6 separate regions of the Homo sapiens genome follow, and regions 1, 2, 3, 4 and 6 are each linked to region 5. Evidence: promoter capture Hi-C in 16 types of primary human blood cells and fetal thymus (Javierre and others, 2016). All regions are on one chromosome and are shown on one strand. Each heading gives the region's core, a stretch centred on a gene start or on the middle of the fragment in contact. The rest is flanking DNA. Distances are from core to core; before and after follow the strand shown. Region 1 holds the start of IQGAP2 (IQ motif containing GTPase activating protein 2). Region 2 overlaps IQGAP2 (IQ motif containing GTPase activating protein 2). Region 3 overlaps IQGAP2 (IQ motif containing GTPase activating protein 2). Region 4 overlaps SV2C (synaptic vesicle glycoprotein 2C). Region 5 holds the start of POC5 (POC5 centriolar protein). Region 6 holds the start of GFM2 (GTP dependent ribosome recycling factor mitochondrial 2).

The links. Contacts are between HindIII fragments. The CHiCAGO score rates a contact against its expected background, and 5 or more counts as called.
Region 1: a contact is called between the fragment with the promoter of IQGAP2 here and the fragment with the promoter of POC5 in region 5, in 2 of 17 cell types (naive B cells and naive CD8 T cells). The highest score is 7.3, in naive B cells.
Region 2: a fragment that was not itself captured here is called in contact with the fragment with the promoter of POC5 in region 5 in 1 of 17 cell types (naive B cells); the score reaches 5.2 in naive B cells.
Region 3: a fragment that was not itself captured here is called in contact with the fragment with the promoter of POC5 in region 5 in 2 of 17 cell types (naive CD4 T cells and total CD4 T cells); the score reaches 7.9 in naive CD4 T cells.
Region 4: a fragment that was not itself captured here is called in contact with the fragment with the promoter of POC5 in region 5 in 10 of 17 cell types (M1 macrophages, M2 macrophages, M0 macrophages and 7 more); the score reaches 10.7 in M1 macrophages.
Region 6: a contact is called between the fragment with the promoter of GFM2 here and the fragment with the promoter of POC5 in region 5, in 14 of 17 cell types (total B cells, non-activated CD4 T cells, activated CD4 T cells and 11 more). The highest score is 28.5, in total B cells.

Annotation. Positions count from the first base shown.
Region 1 is chr5:76,401,776-76,406,111 of GRCh38, forward strand. It overlaps IQGAP2 (IQ motif containing GTPase activating protein 2), which reads left to right and starts at 1,510. Exons shown (of 36, transcript NM_006633.5): 1 at 1,510-1,816. The coding sequence starts at 1,771. RefSeq lists silencers at 1,192-1,541, 1,712-1,821 and an enhancer at 1,475-1,975. The HindIII fragment of the contact is 5,105 bases long and covers 831-4,336 here.
Region 2 is chr5:76,578,366-76,582,781 of GRCh38, forward strand. The region is part of intron 5 of IQGAP2 (IQ motif containing GTPase activating protein 2); the gene reads left to right. Among named protein-coding and RNA genes, the nearest start is that of F2RL2, 43 kb to the right of the region's middle. RefSeq lists an enhancer at 3,862-3,951. The HindIII fragment of the contact is 2,766 bases long and covers 1,276-4,041 here.
Region 3 is chr5:76,548,497-76,552,418 of GRCh38, forward strand. All of the region lies in intron 2 of IQGAP2 (IQ motif containing GTPase activating protein 2), which reads left to right. Among named protein-coding and RNA genes, the nearest start is that of F2RL2, 73 kb to the right of the region's middle. The HindIII fragment of the contact is 5,305 bases long and covers 1-3,922 here.
Region 4 is chr5:76,254,309-76,258,515 of GRCh38, forward strand. The region is part of intron 4 of SV2C (synaptic vesicle glycoprotein 2C); the gene reads left to right. Among named protein-coding and RNA genes, the nearest start is that of SV2C-AS2, 55 kb to the right of the region's middle. The HindIII fragment of the contact is 1,926 bases long and covers 343-2,268 here.
Region 5 is chr5:75,714,885-75,718,759 of GRCh38, forward strand. It overlaps POC5 (POC5 centriolar protein), which reads right to left and starts at 2,553. Exons shown (of 12, transcript NM_001099271.2): 1 at 2,422-2,553. It overlaps LOC441087 (a long non-coding RNA gene), which reads left to right and starts at 2,548. Exons shown (of 3, transcript NR_149046.1): 1 at 2,548-2,700. RefSeq lists an enhancer at 1,949-2,258. The HindIII fragment of the contact is 9,196 bases long and covers 1-3,875 here.
Region 6 is chr5:74,765,163-74,769,387 of GRCh38, forward strand. It overlaps GFM2 (GTP dependent ribosome recycling factor mitochondrial 2), which reads right to left and starts at 1,955. Exons shown (of 21, transcript NM_032380.5): 1 at 1,776-1,955. It overlaps NSA2 (NSA2 ribosome biogenesis factor), which reads left to right and starts at 2,087. Exons shown (of 6, transcript NM_014886.6): 1 at 2,087-2,201; 2 at 3,769-3,956; 3 at 4,052-4,202. The coding sequence starts at 2,199. RefSeq lists an enhancer at 1,668-2,107. The HindIII fragment of the contact is 3,173 bases long and covers 1-2,405 here.

The DNA of each region.
Region 1 (4,336 bases), core at 260-2,759, 690 kb after region 5:
CCCTGTGTACAGTTTACGTCCCTGTGAGCATCTACCACTCACAGAGCCACCCTAAGCACGCTCTGCAGTGTCAGCATCACCTGGCAGTATGCTAGAAATTAGAAATGCAAATTCATGAGCACCAGCCCAGACCCATTGAGTCGGAAATTCTGAGGGTGGGGCCCAAGAATGTGAGTTTCAACAAGTTTGAGAAGGACTGCGTCTCCTATATGAAATGGAAAACAGCTGCTCATCCTCTGTATCCTTGCATAATAAAAAATGATTAGTGTCACTATGCCACCATTTCCTCAGCGAAATAATTTCCATCCCCCCACCGCCTCCGAGGGTCTTGCACTCTCACCCAGGCTGGAGTGCACTGGTGCAATCACAACCCACAGCAGCCTTGTCCTCTCGGGCTCAAGCAATCCTCCCACCTCAGCTTCCTGAGTAGCTTGGGACTGCAGGCGCAACCACCACGCCCGGCTAATACGGCTAATATTATTTTTTCATTTTTTGGAGAGACGGGGTCTCGCTATGTTGCCCAGGCTGGTCTGGAACTCTTGGGCTCAAGGGATCCTTGTGCCTCGGCTTCACAAAGTGCTGGGATTACAGGCGTGAGCCGCCGCGCCCGGCTCTAAATAATTTCTTATCGCCCTCCCTCAGTTTGTTTTTCCTGTTATCGGGTCACCCACACATTCCACAATTGTCAAATAGGTGAGGGCACAGGTACGGAAGCGTCCCGCATTCCCTCCAGATTTTATCACGCTGAGACACAAAGAGAAAAATAGCTCCTGGCGACCGCATGAAAACCCCGATTTCAAAACAGCCACATGCAGTTTAATTTCCTTAAAAGCTTAGCCGGAAAAGGTTTCTGTGGCTTGCGACCCCAGCTGGGCTTGAGAGAAGGCTCTGCACACTGGGGCGGGGGCGGGCACAAGGTGATCGGAGGGAGGGGGATGACTCGCAGTTGTGTTTTGAGTGGTTGCCTTGGGTTATCTTGTTCCTCCAGCACACACACACTCAGTTTCTTGTCATAAGGGGAACCCTGTTATTTTGTAGACAAAAAGTGACAGAAGCAACTTTCGAAGCAAAAAAAAAAAAAAAACAAAAAAAAACAAAACCAAAAAGACGAAGAAGAAGAACAAAAGTCAACGTGAAATCTCCCCAGAGGAAAAGGAACCGCGCTGTTTGTCCCTCAGTAACTGAGCAACACCCCGGACACGAAGGGCTCCCTGTGACTTCTGCGGTTTTTCTTGCACTTCTCCGCGTTGGTTCACTTCCACCCTCGAAACTCTCCAGAAGCGAGAAATAAGGCGGGGTGGCCGCCACCCCCAGGCCACCAGCTGTGCGGGGGCCCCAGCTGCAGGGGGTCCCGGCCCAGCGTCCCTCTCGGCCCCTTCCCTCTCCCCCGGGGGAGAAGGGGCGGGTCCACGCGGCCTGGGCGCTGCGCCCGACACGCGGTAGGGGTCGCTGCGTCTCGGCGCGCGCTCCCACCGCGGTGAATAACGGGGCCTGGCTGGAGGAGAAAGGAAACCTGCTGCGGGAGGCGGCGGCGACCGGCCAGGGAGCGAGGGAGGAGAGTTCACTTTTACTTCAGTGTCAGCGCGCGGCGGCCGTGGCTGGCTCTGGCGAGAGAGCACCGAGGGAGTGGGTCGCAGATCTTCGGGCGGCTAGGGGAAATCGGCGAGAGGCGGGATCCGAGCGCGCCGGCGGGGCGCAGAGCCCGCGAGCCTGGCCAGCGAGGGTAGCCGCGGGGGGCGCGCCCCGGGCGGGCCCCCGGAGACGCGCAGGATGCCACACGAAGAGCTGCCGTCGCTGCAGAGACCCCGCTATGGCTGTAAGTGCGCCGGGCGCGCGGGGTTCCTGCTGGCCTTGGGGAGCTCCCTCCCCGAGGACGGCGTTGGAGAAGCCGAGGGAGCCGGTTGCGCGGCGCAGAGGAAATTGGAAGGCAGCAACTGCGCGGCTGGCAAAGTTGGGAGCTGGAGTTGCAAAGGGCAGTGAATCGCGTCCCCCCGCTCCTCCCGCCCCCCAATTCCTAATATCCAGCTGGCAACCCAGACCCTCCACTCCGCATACCCAAACGGGGTGCGCGGGCAGTGCGGGGATTGCGCTCTGGGACAGACCAGGTTGGGATTTTAGGGGTATCAGGTGAGGAGTCCGCGGAGCTCCGGGTCGCCGCCGGCTTGGGCCAGGGGGTGGCGTAAGGCACCGGATTCTTCCAACCCAGAAGGGGAGGAAAGTTTGTTTGCTGTGGCTACAGGTGGGCACCGCAAGTAGGGCGCCGGCGCACTCTGCTAGTGCAAAGCCGGCTTGACTGGAAGGGCGGGAGTCTCCTCCTGTCCCGCGCCCTCGAACTTCACCTGACCCGCTAGAGCCATTGGCCTCACAGGTGTAAGTCCCTCCCCTCTGAAACCCCCCAACCCCTTTCCCCCCCGCTCCCCTCGCGCGGGAGGATTGCTGTGTGGAGAGGACGCGGCACTAGGCTCCGGGGAATCCGGCGGGAGCCCGCGTGACTTGAACGAGATGGTGTCGATTACCCAGCCAGGGGCTGCCCTCGGAAATAGGTTGCTTTGGCCGATCGTGAGTGGATGGAGCCAGATTAACACCAACCACGTGGCTTCATGTGCAGAGTTCAGAGTCCTAAACATGTGCCAGGAAGCATTTCCTTTAAAACAAACAGAAAGTTGGCCTGCTGTCTCTCCAAGGTGGCCCTGTCAGTGAACCCAAGGCCGAAGACCACAGGTTAATCTTTGCCCAGGCTGGCCTTGGTGGCAGAGGTACCAGGTTTGGGTTAAGGTGGTGATACCTTCAGCAGGGTGTTTTGTTTGTGTGTGTGTGTGGTTTTGGATGGTGCGTAAGGCCACTGACTTGCTTAACTGAAAAAGGGCTCCTCAACTTGTGTAGGTTCTTTCCCCTCCTCCCCGCTGGCGTGTCAAAGATGGGAGGTTATCTTTCCTGTGTTACCCTTGCAGTGAGGGGGAGGCCTGAGGACTACAGCCTCTGTACTCTAATGCATTCAGCAGTTGACTGAGACCCAGCTTTTTGCCTTTTGGTAAACCACACAGACAGCAGAGCCTCTTGGGTTCAAGAGGGAACGCTGTGCTCATTCAGTGTTTGCAGTGCCAACCTCAGGTGGGACCCAGCTTTTTGCCTTTTGGTAAACCACAGATACAGCAGAGCCCGTTGGGTTCAAGGAGGAATGCTGTGCTCATTCAGTGTTTGCAGTGCCAACCTCAGGTTGGTGGAAGTACTTTAATGTGACCAGCTCTCAGAATATATGGTGGCTTCACTGTGTCAAATGATAAGATAACCACAAACTTCTGCAAACTAGGTGAATCTACATGAACAAATGATTTCTTGCTATCACATGATTGATGTCGGCCCTCATGAGCAATAAATAGTGCAAAATTTCCGTGAATGTGGTACATGAATGCAGCATTTCTGTCAGTCCCTGCATGTGCATCTGTGATGCTGCTTGATTTTCACGGAATAAATCTGTGTTTTAAGTGCACTCCAGAAGAAGCTATCAAGGGAGTCCAGATCTGGCAAGCCTGAAGCCCACTCCACAGGGCCGCTTTCTTTGGAAATCTTCATCCAGCTTTCTTCACCAATGTGGTGTAAGGGGGTGGTGTGCCATCTTGTTGGAATCACTCCCGGTTACTTTCCCTCCACTCATCAAGTGCTGGCATTCAAGTTGGTCACTTAACACTGTCAAAATGGAAAATATTTGCCTATGTTTCCAGACTTTCTTGTCACCCTGAAATATTAAGGCTTTAATATGACAGTTATCTCATTAAAATGAACACTTTTATAATTTTGGTTTATGAATGGTGTATTTTCAGTGTATTCAGAACATGATATCTAGCAGAATAGATTTTGGCGTTAATAGGCATTACCTAACATTACCTATTCATGCAGAAGAGGGCTATTTGGTGTGTTAGTGTAATTTCTGGTTGTTGTTGGCTTTCTGAGCCTCCTATCAACATGAGACTGAAAATCGTGCTGTGAGCTCTTCATGGGAAGGCTAGGGAAGGATAACACAGGATTGTCCTTGCTCTGTTGTGTTCTAGGGCTGTGCTTTTTCTTGTTTATTGGTTTGGTAAATACAGTTTCAGTAAAACCTCAAATTATAAGAAACAGGTGTTACCCCTAGCATTTAAAAATAAAGTAGCAATACATTGTAATTTCAGTTCTAGTGCTGAACGTTCTGAGTATAAGATGTTTGAGACTGGGCTTTAAACACAACTTTTTGGTAGTTTGAATTAAGTTGTCTATTGCTTATTTTGGGTCTGAGCTTCTGTTCTGCTCTCTCTCCTACCCACTTGACTCCTCATTTAATTCAGTAGTTCTTACACAA
Region 2 (4,416 bases), core at 1,409-3,908, 860 kb after region 5:
GCAGTGGTGCAATCTCAGCTCACTGCAACCTCCACCTTCCGGGTTCAGGTGATTCTCCTGCCTCAGCCTCCTGAGTAGCTGGGACTACAGGCACGCACTACTATGCCCAGCTAATTTTTTGTATTTTTAGTAGAGACGGGGTTTCACCATGTTGGCCAGGATGGTCTTGATCTCTTGACCTCGTGATCTGCCTGCCTCAGCTTCCCAGTGTGCTGGGATTACAGGCATCAGCCACCACGCCCGGCCACATCATTCTTTTTCTAAAGAAATGTTTGTCTTTTTCTCATTTTTTCAAAAGTAATGTATGCTCATTGTGGAAAAAATTGGAAAATCCAGGAAGAATGTTAAAGAAAAAGCTAAAATACCCACTATCTCAACACCAAGTAAAAACCACTGTAACTATTTTGATATCTTTGAACTTAAAGTGTATACTGCGTATGGCATGTTTTACTTTTGTGGCTTCTTTTGGAATGTTATAAAGCCTCTGCCTTGAAAAGGAACCAGTTTAAGAGTGAGAGCCTTACTAACTAGTTACTATACTAATTTTTAAAAAATATCTGGAGGCCTTTTACGTAAGGGTAAGAACACTTTTTTGACATGTTGTTTAGTGCCCACCTTATTAAAGATGTATAATAAATGATATTAAACAACTGTTACTTGTTTAAACAGTCATAAAAGTGAGTTCCTTGAAAGAGTTGGAATAATTTAGTAGAAATGATGTTTTGAGTACTTCAGATACCTTAAAGAGCAGGTGAAATGCCCAGGTACGTTATTACAAACTTACTACACTGGAACCTATTCTGTAAGACCCATACTACAAGTTTCACTCATTTTGTTTATTATTTATAACTAGTTTTGAGTTGTCCTTGGCTATTATATTATTTTGATACCTACCCAGAATTGACATAATCTTCGTGGCACCAGAAACAAAAGAATACCCTTTCAAACCTGCCATGATTACAGATCTGGGTTTCGGATGGATCACTTGTGAGTCAGAACATGGCGCAACTTTGGGTTCTTCTCCCATGGCGAGTCAGACCCTGGCCACAGGCATCAGGCTAAACTTTCTTTGTTTAAAAAAAAAAAAAAAAAATCAGACCGCATTTAAGTACCCGGCTTTCAGGTAGGTCTTTATTTACAATCTGGTCCCCACCCCTGCCCCCCTTCCCCATTACCCTGAAATAATTTACTTTCTTAAGTCTCACTTGACCAGCATTGTATAATCCATTGTCCTGTCATAATGATGTATTGGCCTGATCCATTAACATTATTAAAAGCTTATGTATGCCTTTTAAATATTTTTTTTTTAATTAGTTGGGCTTTCTAGAGGTTTTCATCCCCTGGGAGACAAGGGATTGACTGTACCCAGTGATCCTTAGGCTTTTGGGCTGATTTATCATCTCAGATCATGTTTCTAGTCCTGCCTCCACTTAGTTAGTGGATGTGACCACCAGTGCTGGACCCTCTTTCTACCCGGTGTTTCTGTCACCACCTATGCTCCTTGGTTCTTCCTTATCTTGGGGCACTTCCTTTGTTTTCTGGGACTATTTAGTTTACTCAAAGTTCTTGGTCTTTATTCTTTCATGTAGTATAAATAGTATAAAAATATCTATATATAAACAAATATAGGCCAGGTGTTGTGGCTCATGCCTGTAATCCCAGCACTTTGGGAGGCTGAGGCAGGCAGATCATGTGAGGTCAGGAGTTTAAGATCAGCCTGGCCATGATGGTGAAACCTCATCTCTACCAAAAATACAAAAATTAGCCAGGTGTGGTGGCAGGTGCCTATAATCACAGCTACTCGGGAGGCTGAGGCAGGAGAATCGCTTGAACCTGGGAGGCGGAGGTTGCAGTGAGCTGAGACTGTGCCACTGCACTCTAGCCTGGGCAACAGAGGGAGACTCCATCTCAATTAAAAGAAAAAAAAAAAAGCATGGTGGCACACGCCTGTAGTCCCAGCTACTCGGGAGGCTGAGGCAGGAGAATAGACCCAGGAGGCGGAGATCACAATAAGCCAAGATCGCGCCACTGCACTCCAGCCTGGGCAACAGAGCGAGACTCCGTCTCAAAGAACAAAACAAAACAAAACAAAACAAACAAACAAAAAACAGATATAGAAGAAACAAAGTACTTGTGTTTTAATAATGCTCCCCAACTTGTTAAAGTCAATATAAATACACATTCGCTATTTATCTCTTTTTTTTATTACAACTTCCTTTTTGGACACTGTATATTATTCTCTTGATTATTGTTTTGAACCTGTGGCCTTTCTCAGACTTAACCAAGATTAATATCTCTTTCTTTTTGATGAACCAGATTGTTTCAGCTTGGTCAGTCTGAGCTCTTTCTGGCCCACTTCCTTGTCCTTCTAGCACCGTCCCTGACATTCTTTGAAATATCCTTGCTCGTGGTCACAACAGGATGTTCCAGTCCTATCCTGATTATTTCTGCTTTGAGATGTGGAACCACCACTCTCTAGGGATTCCTCTTAAAAGTCATGTGTTTATATTAATTTTTCAAGTTTAACCTTATTAGCTTACTGGATTCTGCTTTTCTTGCTGTCTAGTTCATTTGACCATTGAGATTCTTCTACATGGGCAGCCACAAACGGAAGCTATGTCTGCCTCTCCTCTGTGATAGGATTACTCTTCCCGCTGCTGATACTGTAGCTGTGTCGCAGCAGCCATGTTTTCAGGTGCAATGGTGATGCCATGGCTCTGGCAGACCCACTTCTGGTTCACCAGCCGTCCAGGTACTCTGGGAGCTTTGTGGAGTAGAGTTTGTCTAGCCAGCTCCCACACAGCCAGGTGGCTGTCTTGCTTACCAGGTGGCCTTTGAACCTGCTCCTCAGGCATTAATGCATAACTTTCCTTGTCTTAACACTCTGTTCCCTTAGAACCTTTTCCTTCCCTAAGAAACTGATTGAACCCTTATATCAGATTGATTATATCTCTAACAGTGAACATATTTGCATTTATAAATAAGATTTCCAAAGACAGTTTCTTAGCTCAAAGGACAGGCTCTAATCCTAGGTTCTCAGAAGGGATATCTGGAGATGGCAGTATTTGGAAGTAAGGTGAGGGAGGCAGTTGCACCTGCTTATTTCTTTCAAGTCCTTCCTTGCTCAGAATTCTCTCTGTGCTCTGAACCATTCCTTTCCCTTTCCTCCTCTTTCTGTCCTAAATTAGTATGGTGGTTATGCCTTTCTGTCTTCCTAAATTCTGAGCTCTTAAGAGACTATGAACCACATCTTGTTACTTCATACAGCTTACGTGCTATTGATTCCAAGTTAAAGTCTCTGGAGTTTGTATATTTAACTCTTCAGGAGGTTTAATTGAACTAATTTCTCTATGATAAGGCTACCTCAGGATTCCTTTGGTTTGGGGCTGAAAATTAGGTATAGAACCCTGGATTTTGATATGATATTGGCAGTGATATATGTGACTAAGATGGAAAAATTTGGTTCAGTAAATAAAACTATTTCAAACATGGAGTCTGTGGTGAAATAGAGATTCTTGGCATTGGAAAAAGTAAGAAAACCACTTTGATAGGTTATCAATAAGTGTTTGTATACAAAGGACACATTTATTTAACAAAGAATAGTAAGAACAAAGGTTAACACAAATGGAGCTTTTAACTATGTGCCTGGCACTGCACAAAATACTGTACTGGTATAATCTCATTTTATCTTCATAACATATCTGTGCAGTGGTCACTATTATTACTCCCATTTTATCACCAAGGCAGTTGAGGCACAGAGAGGCTGCCGAAGGTCACACAGTTAGTAAAAACCAGGATATGTGAGAACTGAACCTGTGCTATTATGAATTCAGCCAGCCAATGGCTTCAAAAGAAGTCAATTATTTCCCTACTTCTAAGAAAATTAAAAGAACACTGGTATCAGACTTGAACTTCAGCACAGGCCTCTCAGCTATTATATTTAACATGTTTTAAATGAAGAATCATGGAACTTGAGAAGGGGAAGGGCCTTGGGAAGTTATTGTAGTCTAAGTCATTCATTTCACAGATAAGGGAACTGAAAGCTTGGGTTACGTGACTTGCTCTTAGTCACACACTGAGGTTTTACCAGTTTTGGGACCAGGATTCAGCGCTTCTGGATTCTAGTCCTGTGGTCTTTCTGCTCTACCATGAGGCTTTGATATACAAACATTCATTCCACATGTTATAGTACAAAATGAGCTACACATAATGTGATCCAAGAAAGCTGAAATAAATTTAGCTCCTGCCTTTTAAGTTTGCATTTCATTACGATAGTACCTTTTAGTGTATATCCTGAAAGTATAGAAAAAACTAATACCACTAGTTTTATCTTGAAAGTGGTAGAAAAAACTAATGCCATGTGATATTGGCAGTAATGTATGTGACTAAGATGGAAAAATTTGGTTCAGTAGATAA
Region 3 (3,922 bases), core at 381-2,880, 830 kb after region 5:
GCCCTGTTCACCCTATTAATCTTAAGTGATTTGTCAGAGCAGAGTGGCAGAGAGGTGTCCTGCAGAGGTGACAACCTGAATTTAAATCACAGCTCAGCCGCTTACTAGCTGTGTAATCTTGAGCAAATTACTTAACTCTCTGAGCCTCTTCTTCCTTCTCTATTAAAGGGGAGTGATATCAATCTCATCAGATTAGTGTGAGAATACATTCATATAAGTGCCAAGTACCTGCTAAGTGCTAGTCCATGTGCTAAGTAAATGTGAGCTGCAATTGTTTGCCATTGGCATTATCAGTAGAGTGGGAGTCTCATTATAGCAGAAACCTGGCTCTCCTGAACATATGTAAATATTTACATAGCCCCTACTAAATGCCATTTAAGAGTGTATCTAGTGTAAGGCAATAGGATGTGTTTAGCAGGAGGAGTGGATTTGTTCAGGGGGTGCAACAGACTGGGATGGGAGAAGAAGGCATGTTTGATAGTCAAAATGCTGGCATACTTCCTGCGCAAGGAAGTCTGTATGGCTAAACAGTGCTGAACTAAACAAATACTGCTGAAGGTCAGGTGTGAACAGTGAATCATATTGGCGGGGCATGGTCTGGGATATGGTGGTGAGCAGTAAAAACTACAATAGCTACCATGAAAGGTACCTACTATATGCCAGGCACTGTTCTAGTGCTTTTCTCCTATTAGCCCTTGGAAGCAGTTCTATTATTATCCCATTTTGTAGATTAGGAAACAGACTCAGATTAATTCAGTTACCCAAGGGGCACGTAACTGGTAAGTGGCAGAGCTTTGGTTCAGTCTCAGGCGTCGAGCTCTGGAGTGTGTGTGTGTGTGTGTGTGTGTGTGCTTTCAACCATTGTGTTAGATGCCTCTCAAGACAGATAAGGTCCTTGCTATTGTAGAATTCACAGTCTAACTGAGTGAGCCAGTCAAACTAATAAGTATTATATCTAGTCTGCCAGGTAGTAATAAATGCAGTGAAGAGAAAATTGGGTGAGGAATTTTAGAGGATGATGGGAGTTGATGTTTTAGCTAGTGTATTAGTTTGTTCAGGCTGCCATAAACAAAATACCACAGATTGGGAGGCTTAAACAACAGAAATTTACTTTCTCACAGTTTTGGAGGCTGGAAATCCAAGAGCAAGGTGTCAATGTGTTTGGTTTCTTCTGAGGCCTCTGTCCTCGGCTTTGCAGATGGCCCTTTCACTATGTCCTTCTGTCTTCCCTCTATGAGCGTTCAGCCCTGGGAGCTCTCTGTGCCCTGATCACCTTTTCTTATAAGGACAGTAGCCACACCTAATCACCTCATTTTAACTTAACCATCTCTTTAAAGGCCCTGTCTTCAAATACAGTCTCATTTTGAGGTATTAGGGGTTAGGACTTCAACATATAAATTTGGGGAGGGGAACACAGTTCTGACCATAACACTCTGCCCTCTGCACCCCCAAAATTCATGTCCTCCTCACAGCAAAATACATTCACCTGCATTCAACAACCTAAGCCTTAACCCATTCTAGCATCAATTCTAAGTCCCAAATCTCATCTAAATATCATCTACATCAAAGTGAGAGAGACTCAAGTATATGATTCATCTTGAGGCAAAAATTCTTCTCCAGCTGTGAACCCGTGAAACCAGACAAGTTATTTGCTTCCAAAATACAATGATGGGGACAGGCTTAGGATAGACATTTCCATTCCAAAAGGGAAAACTTGGAAGGAAGAAAAAAGGGTCATGGGTCCAAAGCAAGTCCAAAACCTAGCTGGGCAAATTATGTTCAATTTTAAGGCCTGAAAATAATTCTTTTTACATGATGATCTGTCCTCCAGGCCCATTGGGCTGGCAGAATTTTTTTTTTTTTTTTTTCAGTATTTATTGATCATTCTTGGGTGTTTCTCGGAGTGGGGGATTTGGCAGGGTCATAGGACAATAGTGGAGGGAAGGTCAGCAGATAAACATGTGAACAAGGGTCTCTGGTTTTCCTAGGCAGAGGACCCTGCTGCCTTCCGCAGTGTTTGTGTCCCTGGGTACTTGAGATTAGGGAGTGGTGATGACTCTTAAGGAGCATGCTGCCTTCAAGCATCTGTTTAACAAAGCACATCTTGCACCGCCCTTAATCCGTTTAACTCTGAGTGGACACAGCACATGTTTCAGAGAGCACGGGGTTGGGGGTAGGGTCACCGATCAACAGGATCACAAGGCAGAAGAATTTTTCTTAGTACAGAACAAAATGGAGTCTCCCATGTCTACTTCTTTCTACACAGACACAGTAACAATCTGATCTCTCTTTCTTTTCCCCACATTTCCCCCTTTTCTATTTGACAAAACCGCCATCGTCATCATGGCCCGTTCTCAATGAGCTGTTGGGTACACCTCCTAGACGGGGTGGCGGCCGGGCAGAGGGGCTCCTCACTTCCCACACGGGGCGGCCAGGCAGAGGCGCCCCTCACCTCCCTCCCGGATGGGGCGACTGGCCGGGCGGGGGCTGCCCCCCACCTCCCTCCCGGACGGGGGTGGCTGGCCGGGCAGAGAGGCTCCTCACTTCCCGGACGGGGTGGCTGCCGGGCGGAGGGGCTCCTCACTTCCCAGACGGGGCGGCTGCGGGGCGGAGGGGCTCCTCACTTCTCAGATGGGGCGGCCGGGCAGAGACGCTCCTCACCTCCCAGACGGGGTGGCGGTCGGGCAGAGACGCTCCTCACCTCCCAGACGGGGTCGGGGCCGGGCAGAGGCAATCCTCACATCCCTCACATCCCAGACGGGGCGGCGGGGCAGAGGCGCTCCCCACATCTCAGATGATGGGCGGCCGGGCAGAGATGCTCCTCACTTCCTAGATGGGATGGCAGCTGGGAAGAGGCACTCCTCACTTCCCAGACTGGGCGGCCGGGCAGAGGGGCTCCTCACATCCCAGATGATGGGCGGCCAGGCAGAGACACTCCTCACTTCCCAGACAGGGTGGCGGCCGGGCAGAGGCTGCAATCTCGGCACTTTGGGAGGCCAAGGCAGGCGGCTGGGAGGTGGAGGTTGTAGCGAGCCGAGATCACGTCACTGCACTCCAGCCTGGGCAACATTGAGCACTGAGTGAGCGAGACTCCGTCTGCAATCCCGGCACCTCGGGAGGCCGAGGCAGGCAGATCACTCGCGGTCCAGAGCTGGAGACCAGCCCAGCCAACACGGCGAAACCCCGTCTCCACCAAAAAATGCAAAAACCAGTCAGGCGTGGCTGCGCGTGCCTGCAATCCCAGGCACTCTGCAGGCTGAGGCAGGAGAATCAGGCAGGGAGGTTGCAGTGAGCCGAGATGGCGGCAGTACAGTCCAGCCTCCGCTGGGCATCAGAGGGAGACCTTGCAAAGAGGGAGACGGGAGAGGGAGACGGAGAGGGGGAGGGGGAGGGGAGGGGGAGGGGAGGGGGAGGGAGAGGACTGGCAGAATTTCTTCAAGGCCCCAGGTGGCAGCCTTGCTTTTGAGGCCTTGGACAATGACAGCCTCACCCTCTCACACTGAGACAGAGAGAGCCTCACCCTTTGAAATGGAAGAGAGCCTTCCTCGCCCCTGGGCCTGAACACTTTCGTTGTGGGGTGAGAGTAGTAGCTTTAGGGACCATTCTTCCTTTTTCTTGAAGGATAATACATGCTCACACCCAGAGCCAGATAGATCTATTGTCCCATCCTGTAGCATCTCAGAAGCCTGCTGCTGTTGTGTCCTGTCTCTGTCCCCTTTAGTCCAAGTCAGCAGTGTTTCTGCTACTGGTAGAACCCCGTCTCTATTCCTGGCTTCTGTTGAGATGGCCAATTAGATCTGTGAGTCCCACTGTCACTCTTTAGGGAGTGATTGTCCAGTCACACTGTTGGTGCCCTCTCCAGAACACATTCTCATTTTTTTGCAATATGGATAAGCTGAGAATTTTCCAGATCTTTAAGTTC
Region 4 (4,207 bases), core at 56-2,555, 540 kb after region 5:
CACATCCAGCCAGCCAATGTGGCATAATAACAGCATTATTTGCATCCCTACTTTTCCATCTATTCCTTGAGAGTGTCGGTGGAAGTGGTTCTGAGAGCCCCAGCTGGAGTGAGACAGAAGGCAAACATTACTCAAACCTCCATGTTTAGCTTTACAATGGTGTCACTCACTTGATCTCACTCTTTTAGCCCTTATGAACTGCCTATTTTCCATGGAAATTTCCAGGCATGGAAGGTAACATCTGACATAGATATGCCCAAACATTCAATGTGAAATAAATACACAGACTGCCTCTGATGTGTTCTGAACCATAATTCAGATTTCAAAAATCTTAATGAATGAAGCTTCTACTTTCCCCAAGACTGTCACTAAATCTTCTCATGGCTTAATTAAATACTAATAATTGTACTAAATCCAAAATGTTAATTATGTTTATCTCTGAGTGATGAAACTTGGAGTTATTTACTTCTTTTATTTTCTGTATTGCTTGCCACATAGACATGTATTATTATTGTAACCAAGAAACAATCACATTGCTATCTGAGGGTAGAAGAAAATGATCAAAAGCATCTGAGACAGGCATATTGGCTGGGGTCCACCCCTTTTCCTGGTACAAATGAGACTCTAAGTGTTGATTTATATTTATTTTTTATAAATCCTCTCTCCACCCCACCCCCAAATGGATTTTACTTTGTCTACATTTTTTAATACTCACTGTCAGGAAATACTCTGTTAACCTAAGATTTTGAGCTTTTCCCTATTATTCTGTCCTATGGAAAGAAGAACAGTTATTCATATAATATTAATGATCACTCTTAATATCATTAAAAAGCTCTGTGGATCTCTCCAGTAATTTCTAATACATCAAGGTAGCCAAAGATTGTTTTGCAGATAAATTTATTTTCCTGCCAGGGATTTTTAAAACCATAAAGCATTATCAAAATCATAAAGTATATGTTTCTAGCTCACTCTTTTGAATCTGTCTGTTTTCCCAGACTGGAATTCACAAACGCATTCTGGTTATAATGATAGCACGTGGTTTGGAGACAGGATCAGCCGGTCTGGAGACCATCTTCCCATGTCACCCAAGCCTCCCATGCAGGGACCCTGTCTTCCTCCACCCCAGAATGTCCATGGTTGTCCCTTTCCTTTGTCCCTGGTTCTAGAGTCCTTTTCTCACTAGTCCTTCAGGAATGTATCACATTTCCTTCTTAACTGTGGCCCTAGAGTGGTCCTTTGGCCCCACTGTCCTAGCTTGGATCTCTGTCTGTCTAGCCAGGCATCCCTTTGCTCTATTAGATTTTCCCTACCAAATCCCAGTCCGTGGGTTGCCATCAAGTAACCCTTACATGTCAGCACCGTGCCTGTGAAAGCCAAGCCCCTCACCTGGTGAAATCGTTATCAGAGTGGTCACGCCTGGCCACCTTATGCGCCCCCCTCACCCCTCAGGTTCTGCTGAGCCACTGGGCCACTGGAGGAGGGACTGCCTCACCTGAGACTCTCATCTCCGCAGCCACCTCCCACCAAATGCCCAGTTCTTCCTGCCTCTTCCTTCAACTTGGCTCCCATCTCAGCCCTTCTGGGGGAAGAGGGCTCAGATTCTTACAATCTCCATAGAAAGGAAATACAGTGTCAGGCCAGTTTGCCTGATGCCTTTTTAAAAATCAATAAAGGGGACAGAATGCAAAATATGTGCTAGGTTGTTTTTATGAAATGCAAGGCAAAAAATGCCCCATTAAACATTTCTTCTCTGCAGCCCTTGCTCTCAAGGGCACATGCTTGACCCTTGGGTTCTTAAGACTTTCACCAAGGCCACTTTGTGCTTTGCCTGCTCTGCCTGAGTCTCTGGCCCTCAGAGCTAGAGGGTGGGGCTGGCCTTCCAGTCTGTATCTGTCCCCTGGGGGAGTACCTTTCCAGGCTGAATTTAAGAATGCAGCAATTGACTTAGAATGCAGACTCATTGAGTGAATGCGAGCCCTGGAGGAAAGAAAAATCACTGTCACTTCTGTGGCCCCCAGGTTTGACACTTTCAGGGCAACCCCAGAGTCTGAATTGCTTGGAACATCCACTCACGCATGCAAGTGAAAGTCATCAGGGAAGAGGCTTTTAATAGCGCAGCGTCTGTGTGTCTCTTGTGAACCCAGGGTGCCCTCAAGTGTTGGCTAGGGTTAATCACAAGCCGCTGTTTCTGAGAACACCCTAGAATGAAGCAACCCTTAAACGTTTTAGCTTTGTGACTTGTGTCCATCACTCTTAATTTTCTGCAGAAGCTTTTTCCTGCCTTTGTTACTTCTGTAAATTCAGTCTATCAGAGGGCTTATGTGGTACTTTTAAAAACTCACTTTGATTTGCCTTTGTGCAAATTGAGCTCTGAAAGAGAGCAGTTTCCAGGGAAATTCATCTCCCAGCAAGAATCCTGCCTGCTACCAAATCATCTTTTAATCTGCCCCCCGCTTTAAAATGTCATTATATTTTCCTTATACAGACCTTCATAAAACTTACAAACACTGTCTAGTTTACATCTTCATTTTGCTCTCACAAGGCCAAAAAACTTGTTAAACAGACTTAATGAACGAGTTCCTCTTGATCGGGGTTGTAAGTTTCTAAAATTGCATTTGAACTTCTACCTGCCTCTAGCTGAATGAAAATTGCCTCCAGACATCTGAAGTCTTTTTCTTCCTTTCATTTTGCTTAATCTACCTCTGTATCAAAGCACATTTCCATTTTGTTTAGGCCAGTTGTCAGACTCTAGGCATTTGCAGATTTTAGAAACCTGCACAGGTGTTCTGATGTGCCGTAAACTTCCAGAGCCACTGAATTCAGCAAAGAAATTCCTTGATGTTCCTACTTATTAATCTTATTAATTAACATATATCTTATATATTAATCTTTATACTTATTGTTGTCACTGGGGCTAAATAGTCTCTATAGCTCGTGGTGGGGGGCTGTAGTGTATGTGTGTGTGTGTGTGTGTGTGTGTGTAGTGTGTGTGTGGTATCTGTATGGTGTGTAGTGTGTGTGTGGTATCTGTATGGTGTGTGTACTACATGGTTGTATGTGTTGGGGTGTGGGGGGTGCGTGTAGTATGTGTGGGGTAGTGTGGTATGGTTTGTGTGTGGGTAATGTGCAGTATATGGGTGTGTGTAGTGTGGGGGATAGCGGTGTGTATGGGTGTGTGGGAGTGTCCTGTGTGTGAGGGTGGTGTGTGGTGTGGTGTATGAGCGTGTGGTGTATGAGTCTGTGGTTTGTGTATGTGTGGGGGGACATGGATATGTGTGGTATGGGGTGTCTATAGTGTCAGCAGATGGTAGTGTGTGTGGGTGTGGGTATGTAGGTGTAGTGTGCATGGAAGTGTGGCGTGTGTGTGGTGTGGTGTGTGGTATGTATAGGTGTGTAGGTAGGTGTATGTGTGTGTATGAGTGTGTAGTGTGTTGGGTGTGGACGCATGTAGTGTGTGGTATATGGGTGTATGTAGTATAGATGGTGTGTCTATGGTGTGTAATATATGGGTATATGTAGTATGGATGGTGTGTGTGGTAGGTGTATGTGGTGTGTGTGTGCAGTGTGTGGGGTTTGAACATGTGTGGTGTGATATATGGGTGTGTGTGGTGTGTGTATGTGTATGTGTGTGGTGTATGTGTAGTGTGTGGGGTATAAACGTGTGGTGTGTGATAAATGGGTGTATGTAGTATGGGGTGTGTGTGTAGTGTGTGGGGTGTGGATTGTGTGGTGTATGGTATATGATATATGTGTTTATGTAGTATGGGGGGTGTGGTATGTGGTGTGTGTGAAGTGTGTGGGGGTGTGGTGTATGGTATATGGGGTGTGTGTGTGTGTGTATGTGTGTGTAAGGAGTTTGTTGGAGGTGAAGTACTCTTTCGACCACAAAGGTCAGAGCTTCCTGCACAGCAGCTTGAATGCTTAGAAACAGTAACTGCTGCCCGGCCCTTTGGATGTATTTGATCCACCCAGATGGTCTACTACAGACAATTCTAGACAGAAGGACATGGGCAGGGGGCAACTGCCTCAGGAAATCTCCCCTGGGCAAGGAGAAATTAACCAGCTTTGTTAGTCTTCCAGGGCTGCAAATGTCCTCTTCAGGAGCTATCTTAGTTGGTGAGAGCTTGATGATGGCCAGAGATGGCTAGAAGGAGCTTGACCTTCGGTCACCTCTACTGTAAACAGCAAGAAGAATGTTCAGATGGAA
Region 5 (3,875 bases), core at 1,303-3,802:
TCCAGTTTGAGGAATCACTGGCATAATGGGAACTGCTGAAAAAAGGGAATGGATGAGACCACCTATAAAAAAGGAATGTGAGAAAAAGTTCTTATCCTGAGGTCCTGTATTAGTACGTTTTTCAAACTGCTATAAAGAACTGCCCAGGCCGGGCACGGTGGCTCATGCCTGCAATCCCAGCACTTTGGGAGGCTGAGGTGGGAGGATTACGAGGTCAGGAGATCAAGACCATACTAGCTAACACGGTGAAACCCCGTCTCCACTAAATACAAAAAATTAGCCTGGCGTGGTGGTGGGCGCCTGTAGTCCCAGCTACTTGGGAGGCTGAGGCAGGAGAATGGCGTGAACCCGGGAGGCGGAGCTCATAGTGAGCCAAGATCGCGCCGCTGCACTCCAGCCTGGGCGACAGAGTGAGACTCCGTCTCAAAAAAAAAAAAAAAAAAAAAGAACTGCCCAAAACTGGGTAATTTATAAATAAAAGAATTTTTATTGACTCACAGTTCCGCATGTCTGGGGAGGCCTCAGGAAACTTAAAATCATGGTAGAAGGGGAAGCAGGCACATCTTAGATGGCGGCAGGTGAGACAGTATGTGAGAGAGTGCAGGAAAAACTACCATTTATAAAACCATCAGATCTCGTGAGAATTCACTATCATGAGAACAGCACGGGGGAAATCGCCCTTATAATCCAATCACTTCCCTTCCCCTACATGTGGAGATTACAATTGAAGATGGGATTTGAGTGGGGACACAAGACCTAACCATATCAGGTCCCTATACCCGACTCGTATGCAATATTTTTATCATAAATGTGAATGTGTATTTTTCTAGAAAGAAGATCTTTCGCTTTAAATATGCGTTCAGAGGGGACCATAGCCCTAATAGAGTTAAGGACTACGACTGTGAATGAGAAGAGGGTTAAAGCCAGAACCACTAACATCTAAAGGGCAAGAGAAGAACAGTCAGCAAAGAAGAGGAGTCAGCAAAGGAAGTCAGAACATTAGAACTATGGAAGCAATATCACAACTTTGAGAAGAAAATAGAATTAGATGCCAAAGAACCATGAGGATTGGATAGAATTTGGAGATTAGGAGGTTGCTGAGACGTTTGCTTGAACAATTTCACTGGAAAGTAAAACAATTACAGGTCTTAGTCACAGTGGGCTGAAAAATAAATGAGAGATGAGGAAATTGAAATAGAAAAGGAAGATACAGGGAAAAGTGCAAAAATAGAATGGAAACACAGGCTGGAACTAAATTGTGGAAAGGAAAGTTCAACTTTTTCCAGTGAGTATCACTGTGCATACACATGTTAAGTAAACTAAATCTCAGCATGACTGTCTTTAGTTAAGCCAATTAGGGAGGATAAAATAAGTGCATGTATCTGCAGCAAGGAATGGCTGCTTCACTGACTTCAAATCTACCACTGTGATAACTTGGTCCATTTATATTTTTATTCACTTCTTCCTTCAGGATTTGAGACCAGGCAGGTAACAGGGGTGGGGGGGGGGGGGTGCTGATTATTTAAAAATGAGCTAGTAAGTATGGTCAGATCTCAAAAATTGTTTCTTAATATGGACACACTGCAGACACAAAAAAACCCACCGCACTCTTGGAAAATATGCTATCTTCCATCTGCCCTGCTTTATGTCAACAAGGTATGAGTTATTTGAAACTCTAGAACAGTAGCATTTTCCTTACTGTTTCTAGGTTCAGAAACAAAGGAGAAAAATGAAAACTGCTTTAATGGGTGGCGGACGCACATTAGTTCACTACATTTTCAGTAGTCTCTAATCCAAGGTATCAGAAAACAAGATCAAAACTTTTGTGTGCTTCTCTGTTGCCAGAAACATAAAATAACATCTTGGTAATTATCTGGCTGACAGCAAAACAGGGGTCTGGGAATTCAAATGGAACCCCCAAGAGGCAAAGGAAGAGCGAATTAACATGCAAACTAGCAGCAGGGTGATGTCGCCTGTGCCTTTCACCAGGCCTAGCTGCACTCAAGGAAAGGGGCGCGCCAGCCCCTCCCCAAAGCAGGGACTAGAAGCAGAGGAGAAAAGCCATTGCAGTAAGCAAAAGGCCATAAGTTTTCTTCCATCACCTTCCGACCCAGCCTGTTTTAAGAAAAATCTTACTTAAGCACAACAGAGCTTTATACATGGTTATTTTTTCTCAACGTTTTAAGTGACCGGAACCTCTGATGACAGTAATCGCTCAGCATCCCTCACTCCTGCTCACTTCCTCTTCCTGCACGCCTCGGAGGGGAAACTTTGGGACCTTCCGGCACAACAGCTGAATCACTCGCGGTCTGGGGAAGAGCCCAGGGGGAGGAAACACGCGCCAAGGAACTTTAAATCTCCCTCCACTACTTTCGCCAGGGATGCAGGGACGCAGGATCTGCCCGGAGCGCTGCTACCCACCGTCGCCGCTCGCGACCAAATCCCGACTCCTCGCTCTGCGCCTCTTAGCCGCGTCGCAGCTGCAGTGTCAGCAAGTGCAGCCTCAGCAAGCACAACCGCTACCTAGACGGCAACCTGACAGTTTCAAACTGCAGGGAGGAATTAAGGACCGCCCTGGGCATTGGTCCTTTGTTTCAGCAATCTGCCGTTTGATTGGTCCGAGAGCTGGGGGCGGGGATTTGGGCCGCTGCCGGGAGAAGCCGGAATTACTTTGGAGAGCCCCGCCCCCTGGCTCCGCAGGTTGGTAGGGGGCGGGGTCCTAGGGAGCCCCACCCAGCGCCCGTGGGGATTAAATATTGCGCGTGCTCAGTTCTGTTCAGCGGCTGCAGGCTGCTAAGCGGCTCCGGGAGCTGATTTGGATAGAGGCTGTTGAGCAGGGCTGAAGTTGGCTAATGCCGTGTGCTGTTGGCTTTCAACAATTCCGGTAACCTAGATATGAGTCCTAATGCTTTCGTCTGCATAAGAACAATCCGAAATTCTGGGCCAGGTGTGGTGGTTCATGCCAGTAATCCCGGCACTTTGGGAGGCCGAAGTGGGAGGATCGCTTGAGCCCGGGAGTTCGAGACTAGTCTGGGGAACATAGGGAGACCCTTTCTCTATAAAAAATTAAAAACAAAAAAAAAATCTGCATCATCCACAGATCCCCTGCAACAGAATCACTTGGAGGTGCTTTTTTTTTTTTTGAGATGGAGTCTTGCTCTGCCGTCCAGGCTGGTGTGCAGTGGCACTATCTCGGCTCACTGCAACCTCCGCCTCCCAGGTTCAAGGGATTCTCCTGCCTCAGCCTCCCGAGTAGCTGGGATTACAGACGACCGCCACCACGCCTGGCTAATTTTTGTATTTTTAGTAGAGATGGAGTTTCACCATGTTGGCCAGGCTGGTCTCGAACTCCTGACCTCAGGTGTTCCGCCCACCTCGGCCTCCCAAAGTGCTGGGATTACAGGCGTGAGCCACCACGCCCGGCCGAAGGTGTTGATTCCTTCGGTCATGGACACCGTCAGGAAATCTGAATTTTTAACACACACTGCCAGTGATTCTGATGCAGGAGTCTGCAGACCACCCTTTGAGAAATTGCTAGTCTAGGCTGGGCGCGTTGGCTCACGCCTGTAATCCCAACACTTTGGGAGGACGAGGCAGGCGGATCACCTGCGGTCAGGAGTTCGAGACCAGGCTGGCCAACATGGTGAAACCCCATCTCTACTAAAAATACAAAAATTAGCCGGGTGTGGTGGCTTACGCCTGTAGTCCCAGCTACTCCGAAGGCTGAGGCAGGAGAATCCCTTAAACCCAGGAGGCAGAGGTTGCAGTGAGCCAAGATATCGCCACTGCACTCCTGCCTGGGTGATAGTGAGACTCTGTCTCAAAAAACAAAGAAAAAACCAAAATTGGTAGTCTAGTTTTAACTAATCTCAAAC
Region 6 (4,225 bases), core at 705-3,204, 950 kb before region 5:
CATTTTCCTCTTCTTTAACTCAGTGGTTGTCAATAAAAAGATAATTTGCACAACCCAGCCCTCCCCCGCCCAAGCCTATTCGTTCCCATTTATTCAACAAGAATTTACTGTGTGTCTGCCTACCCACTGCTTTCTAGATATCAGCGTTAATGCAGTGAACAAAAGACAACAATCTCTGCCCTCATACTGCCTCTACCGTAGTCAGGGGATACAGACAACAAACAAAAGTAACGAATACAATACATAGTCTCTCCCATGATGATAGGGTGCTGTAGAGAAGAATGAAGCAGGAAGGAGGAATTGGGACAGTTAGAACTGTAAGTAAAGAGATCAAGGAAGGCCTCATTCAAACAGTGACATTTAAGCAAAGACCTGAAGTAGATGAGGGAGGAAATTCGGGGGATTGAGGGACGGCGGGGAGGGGCGCATTAAAGGCAAAGAGATTATATAACGTACTGTACCTAAAATATACAAATGCTAGTTACTATTTCTGGTTTTAAAGAGAATGATGAGATCACCTTAGAAAATGGAGCCTTAAAAAACTGCTTCAAAGGCGGGGCTCGGTGGCTCACGCCTGTAATTCCAGCACTTTGGGAGGCCGAGGCAGGTGGATCACCTGAAGTCAGGAGTTCGAAACCAGCCCGACCAACATGGTGAAACCCCATCTCTACTAAAAATACAAAAATATTAGCTGGGTGTGGTGGCGAGCGCCTATAATTCCAGCTACTTGGGAGGCTGAACCTGGAGAATCGCTTGAACCCGGGAGGCAGAGGTTGCAGTGAGACGAGATGGCGCATTTGCACTCCAGCCTGTGCGACAAGATTGAAACTCCGTCTCAAAACAAAACAAAAACTGCCTCAAAGCCGGGCGCTGTGGCTCAAGCCTGTAATCCCAACACTTTGGGAGGCCGAGGCGGGTGGATCGCTCGTACCCGGGAGTTCGAGACCAGCCTGGGCAACACGGTGAAACCTCATCTCTACAAAAACTACAAAAATCAGCCAGGCTTCGTGGCGCGAGCCTGTAGCTCGCTACTTTTGAGGCTGAGGTCGGAGGATCGCTTGATCCCGGGAGGTCGAGGCTGCGGTGAGCCGAGCTCGTGCCCCTGCACTCCAGCCTGGGCGACTGGGCGAGATGCCGTCTCAAAATACCCATAAAAACAAAAACAAAAACAAAATACTGCCTCAAATACAAGCACTAAGAATTAATGAAAGTATTCTTTTGGTACAGTTCTTTTTGTTCATCAACTGAATCACGCTGCAAGCTGTGAAGTAATTAAGGGAACTTCTGCAACTGTGCAGTAAAAGGGTAAACCTGATAGTGTATTTAAGTAGACGTACTTTCTGGTAGTTAATTACTTCTTGACACTAGGGGGCCACTAAATACAAGTCCACTCAGCATTTGATTCGGTGCACCAAAATGCCTCAGAAATTTCTGGAATCAGTCCTGTACCTCCAAAAAACCAGAATGTTATCTTCTTCTTTTCTAACAGCTGCAAAGCCCCAGTAGTTCCATTTTTCTGTACACTAAGTTTTCATTCCTCAGTATCCTTCACAATCATGCACACATTACACAGAGTGACCGGAACAAAGATGAGTCGACTTCGCCGAATGATAGAGAAAAACTTCCATACTGAGCGAACACCGAGGGGAGTCCGGAGGCCCTGTTGTCCTCTTCCGTGGCTGGCTGTGTCCGTCGCAGCCTGAAAGGTCAGCGGTACCCAGCGCTGTGACAGGGTCACAGGCGCGCGATGTCTCACAGCTCGGAGCAGTACTCACCTGGCATTAGGCCGCGTGCCGCAGGCCAGCTCTCACCGCTGGGCTCTTGAAGCAGGAGGCGCGAGCCGCGCCAAAGTCTGCAACGGCCTCAAGTCTCGACGCCAGCCTAGGCAAAAGGCAATGTATCTAAACGAAAAGAAAATAGGCTTTCTCCGCTCTACCGCCTCGGGCAGCCACACCTCCACACTTCCGGCGGTGTACCGGCCAAATGCCGCCTGCCAGCAACTTCCGTCCTCCTAGCTAAAAGCGGAAAACAGAGGCTCGGAACCGCTGCGTGGTTCTTGCTCTTCACTCGGCCGTTTTAAAGGGTGACTCTTTCCTGTCCCGGCCTGCGTGGTGTGGGCTTGTGGGTCTTTGAGACCCGAAAATTGAGAGCGTTTTCGCACTCCAGCGGCTGCTCCTGGCGGCTCTGCGGCCGTCACCATGGTAAGGAGGATGCCTCGGACGCTCGCGACACACAGCGTCTGAGTTAGTGGGACCTGAGGACTCTGGGGCGCTGGGGTAGGGGGTGAGCGGTGGTAGGCGGAAATGAGAACTGCCAAGAGAAAAGGATGGTAGACCCGTGGGGTGGGCTCTGAGGAGTGGAAACAACTTCACATTCGAGACACAGACGGTATTTGCCAGAACACAAGCTTTGGAGCAAGATTTTACTCTGTCCTGTTTTCTTTTTTCTTTTTGATCCACCGCTAAGAGTCCTAAAAATTCCTGATTTCACCACAAGCGTGGTTATCAGCCCCAGAGCCTAATGGGAATATGGTTGTCCCTTGTACAGTCTTAGATGTCAGTCCCGCCCCCTTCATTTTACTGCTGAGGAAACTGAAGGCGTCCTTGCCAAAGACCAGACAGCTAATGAATTGCGAAGCCGGGCTTAACGGCCCAGATCTAACTGCCAGGTCCTTTCTCTTTGTGTTACGTCTCTATAATCTGCGTTTCTTTGCAAAATGGCATTCCATACACCCTTCATGTGATTGCTGCAAAGTTTATGTGATAGCAGTTGGTAGCAGCACACCTTGTTGGTTGTTACTTAACATTGCTCTCTGTGCTGGACTTGGCTTTGTATCATTTTTATTTTTGCAGCCTTAAAATACGAATAGACTCACGCCTGGCCGCGTGTTTAAAACGTGTCTAAAATGCAAAAAGCATCCCATACATTGCTGGTGAAAAGAAAAATAATGCACTTTTGGAAAACGGTCTGGCAGTAAACACACGTCCACATGAAGACTTGCATGCAGTTGTTTATTGCAGATTTATTCGTAATCACCCAAAACTGGGAACAACCCTGATACCTATCATCTGGTCAGCGGGTAAACAGTGGTGTATCCATACAATAGCATACTACTCAACAATAAAAAGGATTGAAGTTCCTATACCTGCAGCAAATTGGGTGAATCCCAAAAGCAAGAAACCAGATTCAAAAGGCTATGTACTACTGTTGATCCCTGTTTCATTCTGGGAAAGGCAAAACTGTAGGGATAGGTATCAAACTGAGGGTTGGGAAAGAGGATTGACTTAAAAGTTACATAGGGAATTTTAGGGGGAAATGGAAATTCTTTGTATTTTGATTGTGGTGGTTACAGAACTGTGTAGTTAGGAAAAACTTAGAACTGTATACCTAAAAAGGACAGGTTTTACTGTGTGTAAATTATGCTTCAATAAAACTGACTTAAATTTTTTAAATGTGAAATGAAGGTGTTATTAAAAAAGCAAATTATGTCAAGGAAAAAAGATACTGTAATCAGTTCATCCCTTTTGTGGTCCAGTAGATTTTGGACCATTCCCTAATGAGATTATTAGAGATGTAAGCCCTGATGCCTCATATCATTCAAGACCAAAATTTAACTTACATCATGTGAATAAACTTAATGGTGCAAGAATCATTTAAGTAAGTGAACATTTGGATGAAACAGGGTCTTTGTGCTGTGTAAAAGAAAGCATTTTAGAATAATTGTCAGTACTTTAAAAAATTAAAATAATATTTCTTCCATCATTATAGCCACAGAATGAATATATTGAATTACACCGTAAACGCTATGGATACCGTTTGGATTACCATGAGAAAAAGAGAAAGAAGGAAAGTCGAGAGGCTCATGAACGTTCAAAGAAGGCAAAGAAAATGATTGGTCTGAAGGCTAAGCTTTACCATAAACAGCGTCATGCTGAGAAAATACAAATGAAAAAGACGTAAGTGGTCTCATTTATTTGTCATAACAAGTTAACATCTTTTGAGTAATCATTATTAAAACAGATAATCTTGAATCTTTTTTCCTTCTTGGTAGTATCAAGATGCATGAAAAGAGAAACACCAAACAAAAGAATGATGAAAAGACACCACAGGGAGCAGTACCTGCCTATCTGCTGGACAGAGAGGGACAATCTCGAGCTAAAGTACTTTCCAATATGATTAAACAGAAAAGAAAAGAGAAGGCGGTAAGCAATAACAATTGAAGTCT